3 separate regions of the Homo sapiens genome follow, and all the other regions are linked to region 1. Evidence: promoter capture Hi-C in 16 types of primary human blood cells and fetal thymus (Javierre and others, 2016). All regions are on one chromosome and are shown on one strand. The core of a region is centred on a gene start or on the middle of the fragment in contact, and the rest is flanking DNA. Distances in the headings are between cores, read along the strand shown.

What was found. The method cuts DNA at HindIII sites, captures the fragments that hold promoters and counts their contacts. A CHiCAGO score of 5 or more calls a contact.
Region 2: a fragment that was not itself captured here is called in contact with the fragment with the promoter of STX17 in region 1 in 1 of 17 cell types (erythroblasts); the score reaches 5.5 in erythroblasts.
Region 3: a contact is called between a fragment that was not itself captured here and the fragment with the promoter of STX17 in region 1, in 1 of 17 cell types (fetal thymus). The highest score is 5.5, in fetal thymus.

What each region holds. Positions count from the first base shown.
Region 1 is chr9:99,905,325-99,908,024 of GRCh38, reverse strand. STX17 (syntaxin 17) reads right to left here and starts at 1,371. Exons shown (of 8, transcript NM_017919.3): 1 at 1,319-1,371. STX17-DT (STX17 divergent transcript) reads left to right here and starts at 1,424. Exons shown (of 3, transcript NR_038853.1): 1 at 1,424-1,471. RefSeq lists an enhancer at 833-1,072 and a silencer at 1,233-1,632. The HindIII fragment of the contact is 1,410 bases long and covers 1,131-2,540 here.
Region 2 is chr9:100,209,119-100,211,874 of GRCh38, reverse strand. All of the region lies in intron 3 of INVS (inversin), which reads right to left. Among named protein-coding and RNA genes, the nearest start is that of INVS, 110 kb to the right of the region's middle. RefSeq lists an enhancer at 1,786-1,835. The HindIII fragment of the contact is 631 bases long and covers 1,170-1,800 here.
Region 3 is chr9:100,341,766-100,344,465 of GRCh38, reverse strand. All of the region lies in intron 4 of TEX10 (testis expressed 10), which reads left to right. Among named protein-coding and RNA genes, the nearest start is that of TEX10, 9.8 kb to the left of the region's middle. The HindIII fragment of the contact is 971 bases long and covers 891-1,861 here.

The DNA.
Region 1 (2,700 bases), core at 122-2,621:
CAAAATAACTGACCAGCATTCTTCAAAAGTGTAAAGATCAGAAAGAGTATAAAGACAGAAAAAGACTATCAGTGTAAAGACAGGAAAAGACAGAGGAACTGTCACAGACTGGAGGAGACCAAGGACCCAAGACAACTAACTGCAATGTCGGGTCTTAGAGTGGATCCTAGAATAGAAAAAGGACATTAATACAGGAAAAAAAATCACAAGTTAGTAATTCAGTTAATAGTATTATACTAATATTAACTTCTTGCTTTTGATAATTGCGCTATGGTATGTAAAAAATTATTAATGGAGGCAATAGGGAACTCTGTATTACTTTTGAAACTTTTCTGTAATTTTAAAATTATTTCAAAATAAAAAAGTTTTTTAGTATAAGAGGATGTTTCACGTAAGACAGGTAAAAACATTTAGAAGTCAAAGAACTGCCATCGTATTCACTGCATTAATACTTGGAGAGAGGGGTGCCAGGACTGTGCCAGGTGCTTTACAAACTTTATCATGTAGTGCTTACAACTAATATGAGATGGGTACCATAATACTCATGTTTCCCAGTAAGTTACTTAGGAGGTTATTAATAAGTGAAAGACCCCATTTCTCAGGAAACCCAGCCCCCAAAAGTGACGAACACCTTCCATCGGCCCAGAGCTCCCACTTTTCAGGATACTAGTGGCGCCCGATTTCTTCCGGCCCGCCGCTTAATGTTTCTGACTTATGGAAGAGATACCGAATTTGGAGAGAAAAGTCAAAGTAAAGTCTCCTCTCTGAACCTCGGTTAGCTAAAAGGAGGGAGCCAAGGTGTGGGACCTTCTGCCAACCACCTCTGGGTTTGGCGAGCAGGGGCTTCCGGCCTCTCGCTCCCAGTCCTCCGAGCCTCACTACCATCGAGCGTCGCGTCATTCCTCGCAGTGTCACCCACAGCACACCTGGGCCACACACACCAAACGCCCCCACCAGCGAACGGATGCGCGGGTCTGTCCCGGGACCCAGACGCCAGCGACCCTGGCGACCCGGGGCCTACAGCGCGCCAGAGACAGGACGCGCGCCGGAAACTTTTCCACCCCGCGACCCCGGGAGGCCGTCCTGCTCGCATCGTCTGCGGCCTCCCTATACCAGCTTCCAATAAAGCTTCCAAAAACGAAACCAAGCGAGGCTCCGCCACTTCTGAAAAACAGGAGGAGCCACCATGGCGCTCGCACTTCGGATCCAATGCCCTACTTGCCGCCCAGCGCCTCTTGCGCGCGCCACACGGGCGCCAGGCCCACCAAGCCTGTGAGGGCCCGACGCCCCCAAAGGCGGCCTCCAGAGAGCCCCTTACCTCCCGCCGGGGCGCTCGAGGCCGGTCGGTGGGCACGGCGCAGGCGCAGGAGCGACGGGGCGGGGCATCACGAGGGGTGGGCAGGGTTGGGCCCCGCCCCCGCCCCCGCCCCCGCCCCGCAGGGCCCCCAGGCCGGGCGCTGGGGGCGCACAGGTGAGTACAAATGCGGACGCTGCTGAGAACAGCGAAAGCCTTTTTCAAAAGTGATATTGATTTACGTTATGGGGTTGTGACTCGAGCCAAGAGGAGAGAGACGCACAAACGCTCTTTAGGTCTGCTTGTTGTGTTTAAGACAATTCATGCTTGTATGGCCGACTGCATTTCGCAGTTTTCCTGTCCGTTTTCCTCTGTTCTTCCTAGAATTTTATTTGCGGGTTGGGCATGTATTCTTAGCTCTGTTTTGAAACTGAAGCTCAGAAAGGTGGTGCCTCCCCATCCCGTCCCCAAAAGCCCTGTGAAGTGGACAGGGCAGGAGTGCCATCTTAATTGCAACAGGTGTAAAAATTAAAGCTCAGCAAATTGTGGTTTCCTCCAAAAACTGGTGGAGGGCTTAAGGCAAACGTCTTTATCCCGATTTTATAGATTATGACTCTGGGGTTTAACAAAGAGTTTTAAGTGACTCACTCCAGTTCAGCCAGCTTATGGCAGAGCTGGAACTCCAACTGGGTGTCCTAATTTCCTTCCCAAGTTATTCCAGTTAGACCAGCTGCAACCACATGAACAAGCAGGTGGCCGGCTTTGAAGCCTTGTCCAAGTCACAGGTCCTCCTCTCTTCATGGCCTAACTTCCAGATCCAGCCCTTTTAAAAAGATGTCTGTGAATATTCAGATGACGTGCTTAGAATGTATTCACTAATGGCATTGTCTCAGAAGTGATCAGGATGTTCAAACCACAGTTAAGGAAACTGAGTTCTTAGGGTCTTCCAGTAGAGTAGGAGGTAAACAGGGAAGATTAGGGGCCTGTAGATCCTTTAAAAAGCCTTGAAAGACAATTTCTAAAACAAAGCACCAAATCTACCAAGCAATTTGGATTTTCTTTGGGGACATAATGTATACTGATATTTGTTTTACAATGAGCTCCAGAATGTATTTATCAAATTTTGATTCTAAGGAGAAAAATTAAAGTATTAGGCAATACTGTGAGAAAATGTTTTTTATGCAAGGATCAGTGAAATAAGATCTTTTGAAATAAAAGATCATTTGTGTTAAGTTCTGAAAAAGCTTCCTCAGGTACAAAATCAGGAGGTGTGGTACTCAAAGATTCTAAATTTGGACCTGGACTTCTAAGTTGTTATATGTATGTTTGCTGTAAGTTAGGTGTGTCAAAGTAGTAGGATAAACATTTTTTTTTTTTTTTTTTTTTTAGACAGAGTCTTGCTCTTT
Region 2 (2,756 bases), core at 236-2,735, 300 kb before region 1:
TATTTGACAATTCTGTAAGCAAAGGCTAAGAATGTGCTCCAAAGACAGAATAGGAGCTTTATTTGCTATTTTCCAAGTTTAAGATGTTCATCCATCTGGCAGAGCAGCTAGACAATACATCAGCCAAGAACATCTCTCTGGCTTGAAATAGTTCTGGCTCTCAAAGAGGATTTGACTGAGGGAAAGGCAACATCTTTAGTTGCTCTAAGGCTGAACTCTTCTAATATTTCCCCCCAATGCCTTCTCCAAGCCTTGGCTCCATCCACTAACTTGGTTTCCATAGGAATAGACAGAGCTATCAAGTGGCACGGAGTCAAACAGCACAAATGAGAGAAGGAGAAAATGTTACTGTCAAAAAAAGGCTTTTCTCTATGAGAGGAAATTATGGAAAGGTATTCTTGACTCTGAGGCTTCCTTATCCAATGCCAGATTTTTCAGGTGCTCTTCCTGACTAATATAGCCTATTTTATTTAGATTATTATGAAAATTAATGCCTTCATTGGAGAGCCTTTTATATATAGGAAACTAACCAAAAATAAATATTGAAAAAAGTTATAAAATGCTGGGATGCTTATTTCCACAAGGATAATTCTGTTGTGCTTGTGAGGTACTCTGATTTATTTAGAGTGGTGCTTTAAATTGGTACAACCTTTTAGGATGATTATAAAGTATATTTGGTTTCTCACAGTTGGTATTTTATTTAAGGACAACATTTTTTTTTTGTCTTAAACTCTAGCAAAAGAAGTTCTCAAACTCTAGCATGCATCAAGATCGTCTGGAGGGCTTGAAAACACATAGGCCCTCCCGCAGAGTTTGTCATTCACTGGTGTAGGGGCCAAGAATCTGCATTTTGTAGCAAGTTTCTGGGAAGTGCTGCTGCTGCTGGTCTAGAATCCTAAACTTTGAGAACCACTGTTGAAACAAAGAACCTAATCTAGGAGTTCTCAATCCTTAGGAGCTTAAAAAAAAAGTCTGTTCCCATCCTAGATCAACAAAATCAGAATTTCTGGGACTTTGGAATTAATATTTCTTAAATTTTCGGTAGGTGATTCAAAAATGCAACCGGGATTGAGAAGCACTGACCTAATTAAACCATTCATTCAACATTCAATGGTTATTTTTGATGTAATTACTCTGTATCAGACTCCATGCTAAGAGTTGGGGAAGCTTTATACAGATGTACGCTTGTATGCAATGCAAAATTATAAGCAAGGAAGGGTAAATGCACAAAAAGGATACAAAAACAGAACACAAAGACAGGATAGATGATGTACTTAAAAGTCATTCCTTGTGACTTCCCCAAGATGTCCTTGTGAAGAGGGGAAGGGGTTAGAACAGAATGACTTCATGAAAGAGATGGCAGTTGAACAGGATCTTAACTTAGGATTACTAACACTTTGACACTCCTCAATGTCTCCATCTTGTTCCTGCTCCCAATTTCTTTGATATGGAGGGCAATAAGTATTTTCTGAATTTTATGTAAAGTGCTATATAAAGACAGCTTCAAATCTTACTCCCACTCCTTCCAATCAATTTGTCCCCATAAGCTCCTCCTATATGCATATTCTGAAGCCAACATTAGTAAGTTGTGTATATCATGTCTCTTGGATCCACTTATTACATGCTCCAATAACCCCCACACTATCCCTCCCTTTGACCGTAATAGAAAGTGAAACCATATGCAATGCTATTCACTGCTGTCATACAATGAGATCAGTTCTATGATAGAGGTAAGGACACACGGTAGTAAGAACTCTGTAGAGGGGCACCTAACCCAGCCTTGAGGGGTCAGTAGAAGCTTATTGGAGAAAACAGTGCCTGAGCTGCATGTTGAAAGTATATGCAATTAAGCCAGCTTAAAGTAGGAAGGAAGCTGAATGTGCGACGGCATTGTGTGTGGAGGATGAAAAAGAGGTGACTAGAATGAAAGCTTTAAAAACACAGTATGTCTGAGGATAGAGTAGAACTGGAGACACAGGACACTGAAGCCCAAAAGATAAGCAAGAACTCGATGACGAAAAGTGCAGGGTCAAGGAGTTTGGGCTTTTCCTTTCAGTCTTCTGAAGCAGTACTGAAGGATTTTTTTTTTTTTTTTTTTTTTTTTTGAGACGGAGTCTCGTTCTGTTGCCCAGGCTGGAGTGCAGTGGCGCGATCTCGGCTCACTGCAAGCTCTGCCTTCCAGGTTCATGCCATTCTTCTGCCTCAGCCTCCTGAGTAGCTGGGACTACAGGCGCCCACCACCACGCCCGGCTAATTTTTTGTATTTTTAGTAGAGACAGGGTTTCACTGTGTTAGCCAGGATGGTCTCGATCTCCTGACCTTGTGATCCTCCCGCCTTGGCCTCCCAAAGTGCTGGGATTACAGGCATGAGCCACTGCACCCGGCCAGTACTGAAGGATTTAAGTAAGGGAGGGACATGAGAGAGGTCTCAGCCAGAACACTCCCACACCCAAAGGCAAATCACTGAATTTTTCCTAGCCTCTGTTTCCTCCCACATGAAAAATAAGGAGGGTGGATTCTGATCTAAAGCCCACCCAGCTTAATGTCCTTTGACTCTATGATTCTAATTCTAAAAGGCAGAAGACCTGCTCCCTATAGCTACTTCAAAACTAAATGTTTTTTATTCTAACTGACTCAACAATGACTTAATTTCTAATAATTTTTATTTTCCTTAACCACAGGGTAACAGTTTTTACATCCATTTCCTTTTTCCCAATACTGCACAAGTAATTCATTTTCCTAGCATATTGATGTTC
Region 3 (2,700 bases), core at 127-2,626, 440 kb before region 1:
TAGTAGCATTTGTATTTAGATAGACTAGTAGGACCAAAATTCAAAATCTGAAAATTTATTAATTATGCTAGTTTTGGGTCATCTTATCTGGATAACACTAACAAAGGATCTAAATACTGCTTTAGTTTTATGGATATTTAAAATAGTATGCTTTAGAACTATTTTGTGCTATTATAACATGACTAGGCTTATTAGCAGCTCATTAACATATAATGGTAAGTTTAAAAGACTGCGTAGACTGTTGAAGATCAGAATACAAATTGAGATACTGTATAAAGCTGAAATAAATAAATTCAGATAGGAATAATATTTAAAAACATCCACTGGTAGAATGCTCTAATTCACCTTGGCAGATTTGTAATAACTTGATAAGAACCATTATTTATTTATTTATTTTTTAAAAAGGAACCATTATCTTAGAGACAGAGTATAAAAATGTACATCATTGGTACAATCTATACAAAATGATAGATTGTTAGTAGCATTCTATACAAAATGACATTAAAATGCACATTCTGGTCTTGAACTTCTGGCCTTAAATATCCTTGCACCTTGGCCTCCCAAAGTGTTGAGATTACAGGCATGAGCCTCTTTGCCTGGCCACAGCCTAATCTTTAGGAGGAACCAAATAGCATTGCTTGGCATTGATGTCAGATCACACACCACAAGCTGAATTGTAACTCTTTTTCTCTCAGAAACTGTATAGATTTTTCTATTGGTAAATTGATGTCTCGGTTAGATATAGTCTTAGGACTACTGACTGTTTGCTTTTACATGTTGGTGCTGCAGCTTAATGCATTTAGTTTGCTAGTATTTACAAAAAGTCAAGAAATTTCACTTGTATTCAGGTAGTTTTTTTTTTTTTTTAAACTTTTTAGTAATTTGAAGCTTTGATCCTTACTTTGAAAAGAAGTCTCAGGGTACATTAAGTCTTACATGCAGTGGCTGAATAGTCAGATTCTGTAATAATCAACTGAAGTTGTTTATTTCTGAAATACTGTGTGTATCTTTTTTTTTTCCTGTTCATATAAACAGCCATTTATTCCAGCACTATTTGTTGAAAAGATTGTTGTTTTACATTTGATTACCTTGGCACTATTTTTCTTTTCTTTCTTTCTTTTTTTTTTTTGCATTCCCTTACCTATCTTTTTTATTTTAAAGTCAAACCTTCAGAAGGAATACAATAAGCACTTGCCTACCCCCATCTAGTTGCAGCAATTTCTAACATTTTGTGCACATGTTGAACTACTACTGTATGTATTCTTAATAGTTAGCTAGCTATATCCTTGATATAACTAGTTTTTATTTATTTTTATTTATTTTTTTTTGGAGACGGAGTCTCACTCAGTCGCCCAGGCTGGAGTGCAGTGGCGCGATCCTGGCTCACCTCCCGAGTTCACGCCATTCTCCTGCCTCAGCCTCCCAAGTATCTGGGACTACAGGCGCCTGCCACTATGCCCAGCTAATTTTTTTTGTATTTTTAGTAGAGACGGAGTTTCACCGTGTCAGCCAGGATGGTCTCGATCTCCTGACCTCGTGATCTACCTGTCTCAGCCTCCCAAAGTGCTGGGATTACAGGCATGAGCCAACGCGCCCGGCCGATATAGCTAGTTTTTAAAATGAAATTACAGTTTAACATTAGCTTTTTGATTTACTGTGGTTTTTAGGGTACTGTATTAGTAGTGTCAGGGTCAGTATTATGTTATAAAAATTGTGTCTTAGCTTTGCATTTAATGCTTGACTTGCTTGCTACTTTTTCTCTACGTGTGTGTCTCATTGCTTTTATCCTTTTGCTGTGAGGGTTAGAGTTTGTAACCAAACACTAATGCAGTCATACTTTATAAGGCATTTATTCAAAGCTTTATTGGGCATCAATAAATAATGGCTACTTAAATTAATTAAAATTTAAAATTCAATTCCTCAGTAACCCTAGCCACATTTCAAGTGCTCAACAGCTACATGTGGGTAGTGGTTACTATATTGGACAGTGCAGATAGATATAGAACAGTTTGATCATTACAGAAAGGTCTTTTGAATAGTACTATTCTAGACTCTGGGGCTACAGAGATAAACATGGTTGATAAGGTGCTTGCCCTCATGGTATGTACCTTCTGGTGGGATCTATAGACAGTAAACAAATATATAATGTCAGTACTAGGAAGAAAGATGAAAGTAAAATGGGGTATAAAGAGCATGGGCAGGAACAGTGAGGGGGAGCTATTTTAGATAGGTTGTCAAATGCTCTCTGAGAATAAGATATCTGAATGTCATTGAAGTGAAGGAGCAAGTCTTGTCAACATCTGTGGGAAGAACATTCAGGCATAGGAAACAGCAAGTACAATGGCTTTGAGGTGAGAACAGGCTTCGCATATTTGAAGAATGGCAGGAAGGCCTGTGCAAATGAGGTACTGGGAGAATGGTAGAAGATGGGGGCGAAGAAGAGTGATAGTGGCCAGATCATGTGGGACTCTGTGGTCCCTGGTAAGGAGTTTGGATTTTAACCTGAGTGTGGCGAAAAGACCACTGGAGGGTTTTGAGCAGAGGAGTGGCATGATCTGCATTATATTTATTTAACTTTAATGTGCTGAATTTATAAAAATAGAACACTAGTGAACTCCCAGGTGCTCACAGTCTAACTCTAGCAACCATCATCTCTTGGATGACCAGTCCTGTCCTACATGTATATACATTTCGTTTCCT